Regions from separate parts of the Homo sapiens genome. Here region 1 is linked to region 2. The links are contacts of gene promoters, found by promoter capture Hi-C in human tissues and cell types (Jung and others, 2019). All regions are on one chromosome and are shown on one strand. The core of a region is centred on a gene start or on the middle of the fragment in contact, and the rest is flanking DNA. Distances in the headings are between cores, read along the strand shown.

Region 1 (6,797 bases), core at 13-2,512, 390 kb before region 2:
CTACTAGTCAGCCATGAAATTTAAAATTTTATGATACTAGATTTATATGATATTTCTATGTATGGTTTTTGATATTACATCCTGAGTTTCTTTTGATTCAACATTTACTAGTTATTTAATTTCCTGTTCCCTGAAAAAAATGGAAATGGTGAAAAGTTTGAAATGACAGAAAAGAGAAGATTGAACTCCTTGAGAAATAAGTCCAAACTTTAGAGGCAAAATGACAAACATAAAACATAAAGAAGTCAGTATATCTGTCCTGGCAAAGAAAAGAAAAGTTCTCCATTTTTCTAGTAAGAAAAAAAAGTAATAATCTTAAATTTAGGAAGGGAAATTGAGGTTAGATTCCTAAACAATGGAATCATCTGGGTGGTGAGGGGCAGAATTTGTCCAGTCTATCAGGAAGTAAAGATTAGAGTAGACAATATCATCTTAGAGAGTGCAGGACACAAACATTGTAAATGTAGTCCAACCTGGAAGAAGCGTGGAATGCAGTTAATGATTTCTGGAGGACAGTTCCTTCCAGTCCTAAGAATCGGCAATTTGCCTACCATTTAGTAAATAGCCTTTACTTAGTGGAGGGTAGCCTAATGCTTTAAAAAAATAAAACATCTATCACAGCCCCTGCTCATTAGTACTATACAGACCTCAAGAATCTTTGGTGCTGTATTAATGCCAAGTACTCTCTCACTTAAGTGGTACAGCCTATATTCCATTAGAGACGGGTAAGAAGAGGCACCAGTTCTTTTTAGCAATCAGTTTTTTTTTTAAATTGCCCATCTTCATCTTAAACTTTTCGATAGCTTGTCAAAATAAGGGACAGTGGAAGCACACAACATAACAAAATATAAACACCAAACCTAGTCCTTGCGAGAAAACTCCCCAGCATTCCCTACCCTGTTCAATCACGCTGCTCATTAAACAAGTCATTTTAATACTCACTGTCAGCCCAATCTTCTAGGTGCCAGGATTTTCTTTTGAAGAGAGAAGGTACTCTGTGGGCCAGCCTTGCAGAAGGGTAAACATTTGGAAACCAGGACAGGGTTTTCTAGTATTTAAGATCTGGCATCTTCTAAATTTAGGGGTACTCCCTTTCCTGCTTTTTGGGCTTAAAATATTTTTAAATTTTACTTTATTTTAATTTTTTAGTTTGCACAGACACAATGTGCTGTGAAACACACCTCAAGTGTCTTTTAAAAATTAAAACAGGGTTGATTTGTAGTGTCAATGATTCCTGCTAATCAAAATCACTGACAATTTTTCAGGAGGGAAGAAGTATGGTTTAGCCCTCTCACTAGAGAGCATTGCTTCATTTTTCTGTTTTGATCTAAATCTGAATGTTTTCCTGCAGATAATTCTCTTGCATTTTTTAAAGGGGAGAAACAGGCAATAAAATTCTAAGAAAATAAATGTTTATTTGGACACACAAATTTCTATCCCTGACCCCAGGTGCATGAGCGGAGCTTCAGGTCCCTCTGCTGGTCCAGCTCAGTGGGAGCTGTCAAGGGCAGGTTCAGAGACTTCTACCTCTAAATGAAAACTTGTAAATAGAATGTTGTGTTTACTCTTCTCCTATGGCCAAGGACCATCACTGGAATGCAGGGAGTGGTAAGTGTGGACTCCAACTATGACAGGAAAATCAAGCAGCCGCCCAGACAGAATTTCTCTAAGTTGTGTATCTGACTCAGAAGTCAATGTACATTTCAATACATGCTCCATTTTCTAACCATGCTTTTTTGAAATTGTCTTTTAAAAATTAGAAGTGGTTTTTGTGAACTAGAAAATTTATAAGAAGCTCCTTGTCTTTAAAGTCAAGGATTTATTTAAAAAACTAGAGAAACAAGAAGAAAGAAGGCAAGAGAATGTGACAAAGCAGTAATTTTCCCAGACTCTTAACTTCTAGCAACAAAAATCTGTGTAAGTATAGTTTGGAGATCAGTAGACTTGACTCTTTTAAACCGGAGAGTCATGCTATGGTATTCTGGTACTCTTTTTCTATGAGAATAAAACTGGCTTTTAATGTTTAAACATTATGTGTAGCTTAACTGTAAACCCATTCAAGAAAGCACCATTCTCTTTAATTATCATTATGAGGGCCTTTATACACATTCATGAATTAACACCAGAAAAGGATAGTGCTATTTTGTAATACTAGTCTTCGTTATATTTTCATATCATTTTTAAATACAAAAATATAATATTAGAGAAAGAAAAAAAACTAATGAGGTCACTTAATTCAAATGAGCCAAGGCAAATAATATTTGAACAGTGATTAATTGGTCTAAAGCTATCACCTTAAACCAAAGAGTTAATAATGATCCAGAACAAATAATGACAGAAATATATATTTATTTAGATATATATATCTGTATATGTGTGTACATACGTGTATATGTGTGTATATACGTGTATATACACACATATACACGTATATATGTATATATACGTGTATATACACACATATACACGTATATACACACATATACACGTATATATATACGTGTATATATACACACATATACACGTATATATATACGTGTATATATACACACATATACACGTATATATATACGTGTATATATACACACATATACACGTATATATATACGTGTATATATACACACATATACACATATACACGTATATATACGTGTATATACACACATATACACGTATATATACGTGTATATACACACATATACACATATGTATATATACGTGTATATACACACATATACACATATGTATATATACGTGTATATACACACATACACATGTGTGTACATACACACAAGTGTATGTACACACATACACACGTGTACATACACACAAGTGTATGTACACACATACACACGTGTGTACATACACACAAGTGCATGCACACACATACACACGTGTGTACATACACACAAGTGCATGCACACACATACACACGTGTGTGTACATACACACAAGTGCATGCACACACATATACACATATATACATACATATACACATGTGTATATACACATGTGTATATACATACATATACACATGTGTATATACACATATGTGTATATAGATACATATACACATATGTGTATATACACATAAGTGCATATACATACATATACACTTATGTGTATATACACATAAGTGTATATATGCGTGTATATACGTATATAAACACATATGTGTATATATGTGTGTGTGTGTATATATATATAGACAGAGAGAGAAAGGGAGAGAGACAGACACAGAGAAAGAGAAAGTGACAGGGAGAAAAAGAGAAGAGGGAAAATGGGAAATGACAAAGAAAAATACTACTTCACATAGCTGATGGGACCCTCAAAATTATCCGAAATGATAATGACATTTTATGTTATACATCCTAGTATTTAACAGAATAACAATAGAGACACATCCTTCTGCAATGTCTGAAATTATTCCTGCAGAAATCCACCCCTCCCCAGTGCAAGGATCCCCATTCTGAGAAACACACAGGAATGGCAACCCATGTGCGAGCCATCTTTCTCATCACATCAATCCCAACTCACACGTGGGTCTGATCACCTTTCTTTCAGACACACAGGGTGAATGAATATTAATTACAATTGTTAAAGCCCTACTATCTTTACAATGAATTCAACTTTCTAGTAATTGAGATATTTGAGTATTTTTAATGAAGACCATTTTGCTAAAATAAAAAAAAAAGTGTGGCAATTTTAAATTAAGTTGACTTAAAATTCATATTATTTGAAGGATTCTGTTGCTAAAGGAATTAAGGACACGAAGACCACTTCCAAACTTGTTGATAATCAGAAGCAGATGGAGGTGCTATTAAAAACTCAGATACCCATGCCCACATCAGAGCTACTAAATCAGAATCTCTGAGGACGGGTTCCTGGAATTTTATTTATTTATTTAGCTTCCAGATTTGGAAATCACTGCTCCAGGATGTTGCAAAATCAAGAGAGATGTTAAATGATTTGAATGAAAACATATTTCAACATCTGGGCAGTTCTCTGTAGCCACAAAGACTAGAAGAGCCGAGGCCACACCATCTCCAAATGCACCAGGTACAAATGTCTGTTATCCAAAAATGCACAGAAATAGAATACTGTGTAGTACACTTTTTAGGTAAATGAATTGAAAAATCATAATTTAATATGCTGTACCTTGTTCCCATTGTACAGAGTGATGTATTTAAATTACTAGCTTTTGCATTTTTACTTTTTAAAATTGGTTGTTGGAAAATTAAATCTGTCTTGCTTATTGGGAGTCAAAGCTGCAACATAAAAGAACAATGTTGCCATCTAGTGGTCAATTGAAGACATTAATGAATCAGACCATTGCGAGAAGTTTCAAGTTGAAGGAAAAGACAGCTCAGGAAATAATGTAAATATATTTCATAAACCTAAGACCTGAAACTACAAATATTCTAGAAGGTAACATTGGAAAAACCCTTCTAGACATTGGCTTAGGCAAGGATTTCATGACCAAGAACCCAAAAGCAAATGCTATAAAAACAAAGATAAATAGCTCTAATTAAAGAGCTTTTGCACAGCAAAAGGAACAGTCAGCAGAGTAAACAGACGACCCACAGAGTGGGAGAAAATCTTCACAATCTATACATCTGACAAAGGACTAACATCCAGAATCTACAACGAACTCAAACAAATCACTAAGAAAAAAACAAACAATCTCATCAAAAAGTGAGCTAAGGACATGAATAGACAATTCTCAAAAGAAGATATACAAATGGCCAACAAACATGTGGGAAAATGCCAACATCACTAATGATCAGGGAAATGCAAATCAAAACCACAGTGTGATACCACCTCACTCTTGCAAGAATGGCCATAATCAAAGAATCAAGAAACAGTAGATGTCAGTGTGGATGCAGACATCAGGGAACACTTCTACACTGCTGGTGGGAATGTAAACTAGTACAGCCACTGTGGAAAACAGTGTGCAGATTCCTTAAAGAACGAAAAGTAGAACTGCCATTTGATCCAACAATCCCACTACTGGGTATCCACCCAGAGAAAAAGAAGTCATTATTTAAAAGGTACTTGCACACGCATGTTTATAGCAGCACAATTCACAACTGGAAAATTGTGGAAACAACCCAAATGTCCATCAATCAATGAGTGGATAAAGAAACTGTGATATATATATATATATATGATGGAATACTAAGCAGCCATAAAAAGGAATGAATTAACCGCATTTTCAGTGACCTGGATGAGATTGGAGACTATTATTCTAAGTGAAGTAACTCAGGAATGGAAAACCAAACATCTACGTTCTCACTGACATGTGGGAGCTAAGCTATGAAGCTGCAAAGGCATAAGAATGATACAGTGGACTTTGGGGACTTGGGGGGAAGAGTGGGAGGGGGGCGAGAGATAAAAGACTACAAATATGGTGCAGTGTATACTGCTCAGGTGATGGGTGCACCAAAATCTCACAAATCACCACTAAAGAACTTACTCATGTAACCAAATACCACCTGTACCCCAATAACTTATGGAAAAATAAAAAAATTCAATAAATAAATAATAAAATAATTGCTTATACCATTTCCTTGATGATGCTAGGAAATTTTACCAGTTTAACTCCATTTACCACCAACTCATCTTTTGTATTATTGTCATGCATTTTGAACTTCATAGATATTTTTATTCTCAAAATAAATTGTTTTTGCACAGTCATTAAAAAAATTTAGTAAAAAAAATTCTATTATTGAGGGGATTTCTCCCAACTACAGATGCTACTACCACCAGACCCCCTTAATCTTCATGCTAGTTTCTAGCTCTAAAATCAAAGTATTGGTCAGTTGACAACAAGGTTGTGTTTCATTTGACTCTAACAATAGTATGACAAATCCTCTCATGTTTGTGTATTTGTGAAGGTTCTAAGGTAGATGTTAATACCGGGAGTTTCTCAAATCATCAGTGATACCACCCTTTGAAGCTATGGCTGGGCTACTAGTTTCTTCCAATTACTCAAGCTGCCAAGGAAGCTGTGAGCCTTTGAAAGGGAGATTTCAGCCCCTTCCCCACTTCTGACATCTTAGGGGGTCACATTGCTGCTCCAAGTATTCTCTCTAGAAGCCATCCTAGACTGAGCCTGCCTATGTTCCAAGGACTCAGCTGTGTGAGGGAGTTGGCCTCCCAAATCATCTGGATGAGGAAGACTTTCATGTCTGCACATGCACACTTGACCATAGATATTAGTGCACATATGATCAGCAAGTAAGGAAAGGAATAAATCAAAGAGGTATATTATAAGTAATTTTAGTCATTTTAATTTTAAATAATTGGTTTCATCTAAGTGATCTCAATTAGGTCATGATATGTCTTAAGTTGAATGTTACTCTAGCTTAATTTTTTTGTTTCTGAGAGTTCCAAGACTGGTCTGAGGACAGCCATCTTTAATAGATGGTGTGTCTTTGAAAGGTGGAGTGTATAACATTATATTTCAAAAAGCAGCAAAGTAACTCTTACACATTGAAACAGGGTCCCCTAGTAGAGCAGAGGTCCCTAAAGAGCTTCTTAGATGGAAATCCCAGTCACTACTACTAGTAATCTATTCCTTCTACTTCTCACTTAATGGGACCTATTTCTGTGTTTACCTGAACAAAAGGTATTCTTATGCAAGATTTGTTTCTTGATTAATTTAGGCAATCTGTATTTCCTATCTAATCCCTTGGAAATGAAAAGGCGCATGATCGGTGTGAGAGAATGGGTTTATAGAAAGCCTCCACTAGCCCTCTTGAAGAATTTACGGGTAGCCTGAGGCCAAGGAGATA
Region 2 (6,313 bases), core at 113-2,612:
CTCTTTCAATGGTGGTTTTCTGTAGATCTCTTTGATGGTTTTACAAAATGGTCCCTAAATTCTTTGACACTCCTCACACTAAGGGTTGGGCTCTATATACCCTCACCTTCAATCTGGGATTTGTGACTGCTTGACTAATAGAATCAAGCAGAAATGACACGGTGCCAGTTTCTGGGCCCAGCCCTTAAGAAACTGGCAGCTTCCACTTTCTGTCTCTGGGGACATTCACTCTTGGATCCCCGCCACCATGCTGTGAGGAAGCCCAAACCACAAGTCTCCACAAGTCTTTGTGGAGAGACGCACGTGGAGAAAAACTAACACTCAACACCAAGCAAGTGAACTGTCTTGGAAGTGGATCCTCCAGCCCCTGCTACATGGAGCAAAAACGAGCTGTCCCAGACAGGCTCTGCCCAAACTGCAGACTGATAAGCAGAGTAAATGAGTGTTGTTATTTTAAGCCACTACGTTTTATAGTAATTTGTTTAGCTGCAGCAGATAGCCGGAACAGCATGGGATATAACATGACCAGTGCTCCAACCTCACACTTCTACCATGTGCTGACTCTAGCAGTGCACTGAAGGACTCCAAGGCAGGCCTTCCCTGAGGAGACCCCAGTTTTTACTCACATGTCACAGGCAGTGGCCTTTGTCCCTCATCTCCTCTCCCACCCCCAATTTAGGATAAAGTATCTGCCGTGATAAAGACGTTGAGACCCACTTTCTGTAAGGTCGGCTTCTTCATTGTTTGAATTTCTTGAGGTTTCACGGAGCCACGCGCTGGAACCTTCCATAGTCTCTCCTGAGGCTCCTTCTTTGCCCTGGGCTGGAGGTCTGTAGCCGTGGGATGCTGGCTACAAGGGACAAGATAGAAGCAAACCACCTGATCCAGTAAACTGCTGTCCACTTCGGCTCCTCAACGGCCTCTAAGCTTAAGAGGGAGCACGCAAGCCAAGCAAAGGCGGCAGGGAAGACGGAGAAGAAACCACCCGTGGGCCCTGGCTCTGTGTCCAGTTGTTCCGTCACAGATCAAATCTGCCTGCACTAAGAGGATGGGTTCCTCTGCAAGGCCTTTCGGAATTCTGAGTCTTGTCTGTCAAACTCTACCCTCTCTCCTCCACATCCCCCACCTTTTCTTTCAGGAAGGAAATAGTTAAAAAAGACTCCTGCCCTTCAGGGCCTGGAAGGGGGCGGCAGCTTTGTGCTTTTTAGTGGCCGCGTCCCAGGATAGCTGGAAGGTTAGGACGCTCTTGCGGTCCCAGAGTGGAGTGGAAGGTCTGGAGCTTTGGGAGGAGACGGGGAGGACAGACTGGAGGCGTGTTCCTCCGGAGTTTTCTTTTTCGTGCGAGCCCTCGCGCGCGCGTACAGTCATCCCGCTGGTCTGACGATTGTGGAGAGGCGGTGGAGAGGCTTCATCCATCCCACCCGGTCGTCGCCGGGGATTGGGGTCCCAGCGAGACCTCCCCGGGAGAAGCAGTGCCCAGGAGGTTTTCTGAAGCCGGGGAAGCTGTGCAGCCGAAGCCGCCGCCGCGCCGGAGCCCGGGACACCGGCCACCCTCCGCGCCACCCACCCTCGCCGGCTCCGGCTTCCTCTGGCCCAGGCGCCGCGCGGACCCGGCAGCTGTCTGCGCACGCCGAGCTCCACGGTCGGTGCAAGTCTTTCTTATCGGGGACTGGGACTGGGGCGGGTGCGGGGATGGCGGAGACGCTGCCTGGGCCCCTCGGTCGGGAGAAGACGAGAGCTGGGAACGTTCTGGCCCGACCGCCCTGCAGCTTGGGCGACCCGTCGCAGCAGGGGCTGGCACCCACTTGCCCCAGGGCGCGCGGGGAGGCGGGCGCCTTCCGTGAGGGGTGCGCTGCGGACACGTGTAGAGTTCGGGGAACTTCACCTCTCCACGTTAGGGTTTAGGATTCGGAGTTTTAGGAAGAGGAAGCCCAATAGTTTTCCCTGGGTGACCCCTTTTCCCCAGGCATGCAAGAACTTTGAGGAACGCCAAGCTCTGTGGCTTGCTCCAGCGCCTTCTTGTGAAGTTGGCTCCACAGCCTTTTCTTACTGGCTTGCTTTTCCTCCCCCACATCTGGGTCTGGGTATGCCAAGGGTAGCCAAGGGCACTCGGTGTGAGGGACTGAGGTGTTTGGGGAAACCCCCTGTGTAGCTAGTTTTGGAAACCTGCCTGTGGAGGTCTGGGCGTTTTGTTCTGTGCTCGCCTTTAAAGGACACTTGTTGCTTCTCACGTGCAGAAAACAAGGGCTGCTTCTAGATAATCACCCTCTGTTTACATCATCCTAATGGCTTTCCCCTGATAGAGTTGGGGGTGGGAGGCATATTAAACTCAGGCGTTGTCTCTAAGGAGAGTTGCTCATTTCTTAACCAGAGAGCAAAACCTCAGAAAACTTGTAAAAAGTTCCTACTTTTACTTGTTTTTTCCTCCACCTGTAGTTGTCTATGTGTTAGCTAATTGAGAAACACCTTGGCAGTCATTTCATGTAAATTGAATGCTCTAAACTCATGCCATTTTGATAAGGTCTGAATTTCCAAATTACCAATTACAGGTGAACTTTGATCCTGAGAGTCTCATATGTTAAATGGTTAAAGTGTAAGCGTAAGGATTCAGTCCTCTTTCTTAATAATAGTTTTTGCACTCCCCAAACTCTCAGATTCCAAACAGGAAGAATGCTGAATCTATAGACCATGTCCTTCAGGTCTGAACCTGAGATGCTTCACTAGCGCTATGACTGATTATGAGTGATGATTCAAAGCACAGCCTGACTCAGATTCCTGGAAATGAGCTACAGACCCACCTTGGAAGAACCTGCAGTTGAGGGGCTTCTTTCATTTGGTTTTGTACTTTTCAGCCAATGATAATATGACATCCACAGGCCTTTGCCAAGTATCCCTTAGTTTTGCAGCTTAACATGTGTGGAGAGCTGATAGAGAAGTCATCAGAAATGATTTCTGTAGTGGTGTCATTGTTGGAGGAGGAAGGAAGGGGGTTTTAATGATAGCTGGCTCTCATGCCTTAAGAACCCACAGCGTTGGCCTTACCTCCTGGCATAATCAGCTAACCAAGCAGACCAGCATGCTAACGTTCAAAGCACCACAGGACCTCTGATGAGTAGAGCAGTACCCACCGTAGCCAGGTCAGTTCACAGGTCAGTTCCCAGCCGACTGTAACCGGCAGAGAGCCATTCCATTTCTGCAAAGGCCTTCTCTCTCTCATTTTTAAGAAAGCTGTTATTGAAGGTTCCCTTTCATTTGGGAAGCTGGAAGACGTTAGTCACGAAACAGCACAAGATATGAAAGTATTTCTTCTCCCCCCTGTATCTGTGATCCAAAAAGGAGGATGACAAGAAGCTTTTCTCTTGGAGTCCTGGTGTTCCCTTTGGAATGGAAATGGTGTCATTTCATAGGTCTATCAATTTTTGGCCAGATACTCACTCCAGATTATAAGAAGCAGGAAAAAACTGCAAACTGTTTATAATTAAGTCTAGTCAGAGCTGACAAATACATGGCCTGCCTCTAGCCTTGAAAAATTGATATTTTTCCCATTTAATCAGAGTGAGTCAAGTCCTATAAGCAAAATTATGTGTCCTGCCATTTCTTGGCTTTGAAACCTTGACCTAAATACTTCTTCAAGACTCTGGTTTCCTTATAAGTAAAATGGAGATATTGCTCCTGCCTACCTAGAGTCGTAAAGCTCAAGGCAGATAACAGATACATATATAATAAGTTACTATATGTAAATACTATTATTATTTCAGAGTTCAGGGGGAAATCTCTGGGGAAGGCAAAAGTATCCAATACTCGCACTTTATATATACCCTATACTTTCTATGCAACTTGAATAAATCTTATTTTATCCACGTATTGGCCAAACCTAAGCTTTACTGATTTCCCAAGATAATTGTCAAAATTCCTAAAAGTGGTTAACATCAACCTTGAATACACTCAGAAAAAGGATTCAATTTTATTTTTTACTTTTTATTTATTTAATTTTTTTTTTTTTGAGACAGGGTCTCACTCTGCTGCTCAGGATGGAGTGCAGTGACTCGATCATAGCTCCCTGCAGCCTTAACCTCCTGGACTCAAGTGATTCTCCCATCTCAGCCTCCCAAGTAGCTGAGACTACAGGCACACGCCACCATGCCTGTCTAATCTTTTTTATGTTTTGTAAAGACAGGGTCTCACTAAGTTGCCCAGGCTAGTTTCAAACTCCTGGGCTCAAGTGATCCTCCTGCTTTGGCCTCCCAAAGTGCTGAGATTATAGACATGAGCCACCACACCCAACCAGGACTCAATTTTTTTAAGATTAAATTATGACCTGGGTATATACATCACAGACACGTACACACACCACCGCATAAATCAGATTATGTCTTCATTTGAAGATTCATAAAAGCCTACAGAAAAGGAAATATATAAAATATTGAAATAGGATGAGCTATTTTTAATTATCTTTGATTATTCCTTATTAAGGTCTCCTAGACTTCCTGGACAGGAAGGACCACTTGCTCTCTGCAAGTGACTTAAAAATAAATAAATAAATAAATAAACCACACCAGATGGTCTTTGAAAATGTCTAACCACCCTCCTGAGTCTATTGCTTCATCTAAACTCTGGAGACTTCTTTAAAATATTTTACATACAAATAAAGCACAAGAATGAGAGACAGGATGGTTTAGTGGTTAACAGCTCCGGCTCAGAGTTGGACTGACCTGCCTTAGAATCGCAGTGTTGCCACCCATCACCTGTGGCCTTGACAAGCTGCTTCACCCTCCTGGGCCTCTGTTTCCCTATCTTCAAAATTGAACCGTGGATCTACCCCACAGGACCATTGTATGGATTACAGGGCATCATGCACATATAGTACTGAGTACAGTGACTGGCATAAAATAAATGTAGCTATATAGGATGGTTAAAAGATAGCATGGGGACAGGTGTCCCTTGGAAACCAAAATACTATGACTAGCCTGGAAAAGTTCATTACTCCCATTTCATTCATCGGCAAATACCGTATTGTGATGATAATTTCTGAGAAATGAAAAAGCAAAAAAACTCCTGTAAAAAATTTAGATTTTACACATTAATCATCAAGGTTTTCAAAACAAATGTTTTTATCAATTATTTCATTCTTAATTGAAACTAAAATTGTTAGATGTGTTAATGGTGTTAACCAGAGTTCTCATTAACATTTCATAACACTTTAGATGGCTACCTGTGCTGCACTTCATCCCTATGTTCATTATTTATCATATGCAAGACAGCACACATTTTAGAAGATTCAATTTTTACATTCGATAATTTTATTTTATGCCTCAATACCCTGTACCCTTTACTCAGCATATAATGCCTTTTCTCTTTCATTAAAAAATATGTTTGTATCTCAACTCTTGAAGATTTTTGTAATTCAGGTTCTTATCAGCCTGAATGTAGAGAAAGAAGTAACTACTACTTAAAGGAAAAACTGACATAGCCTCATCCATATTATGATGTAGATATAAGTATAGCTATGTATAGAGATGAGTGAGAGAGACAAAGCTAGAGAGATAGGGAGATGGAGATAGAGCTAGAGATGGAAATAGAGACAGAGATAGATAGCTATAGAGACGGAAATGGAGACAGAGACAGAGACGGAGATGACAGAGATGATGGAGATGATGGAGATGGAGATGGAGACTGACATAGAGGAGATAGAGCTTGCCCTAATAGAGCTTCAGTTTTTTTCTGGTTTTGCTCTGTCATAGGGTAACCTGATATACATATATCTTATCTAATCACCAAATATATCCTGCATTTTAATTGAATCAATAAATAATCATTGACTATGATCTTTTTGGCAACTGGGTTTTGGAACAAAAATTATTTTTCCTTTTGTTTCAGGTGAAAAAAAAGTGAAGGTGTAAAAGCAGCACAAGTGCAATAAGAGATATTTCCTCAAATTTGCCTCAAGATGGAAACCCTTTGCCTCAGGGCATCCTTTTGGCTGGCACTGGTTGGATGTGTAATCAGTGATAATCCTGAGAGATACAGCACAAATCTAAGCAATCATGTGGATGATTTCACCACTTTTCGTGGCACAGAGCTCAGCTTCCTGGTTACCACTCATCAACCCACTAATTTGGTCCTACCCAGCAATGGCTCAATGCACAACTATTGCCCACAGCAGACTAAAATTACTTCAGCTTTCAAATACATTAACACTGTGATATCTTGTACTATTTTCATCGTGGGAATGGTGGGGAATGCAACTCTGCTCAGGATCATTTACCAGAACAAATGTATGAGGAATGGCCCCAACGCGCTGATAGCCAGTCTT

Evidence for each region. The method cuts DNA at HindIII sites, captures the fragments that hold promoters and counts their contacts. A contact is called where the count stands out against the background at its distance.
Region 1: a contact is called between a fragment that was not itself captured here and the fragment with the promoter of EDNRA in region 2, in 1 of the 25 tissues and cell types used here (IMR-90 fibroblasts).

Annotation. Positions count from the first base shown.
Region 1 is chr4:147,092,913-147,099,709 of GRCh38, forward strand. It overlaps LOC105377476 (a long non-coding RNA gene), which reads left to right. Exons shown (of 3, transcript XR_939316.3): 3 at 3,909-4,387. Among named protein-coding and RNA genes, the nearest start is that of TTC29, 150 kb to the left of the region's middle. The HindIII fragment of the contact is 7,270 bases long and covers 1-4,897 here.
Region 2 is chr4:147,479,735-147,486,047 of GRCh38, forward strand. It overlaps EDNRA (endothelin receptor type A), which reads left to right and starts at 1,363. Exons shown (of 8, transcript NM_001957.4): 1 at 1,363-1,642; 2 at 5,878-6,313. The coding sequence starts at 5,948. RefSeq lists enhancers at 2,053-2,152, 2,183-2,262. The HindIII fragment of the contact is 3,954 bases long and covers 1-3,615 here.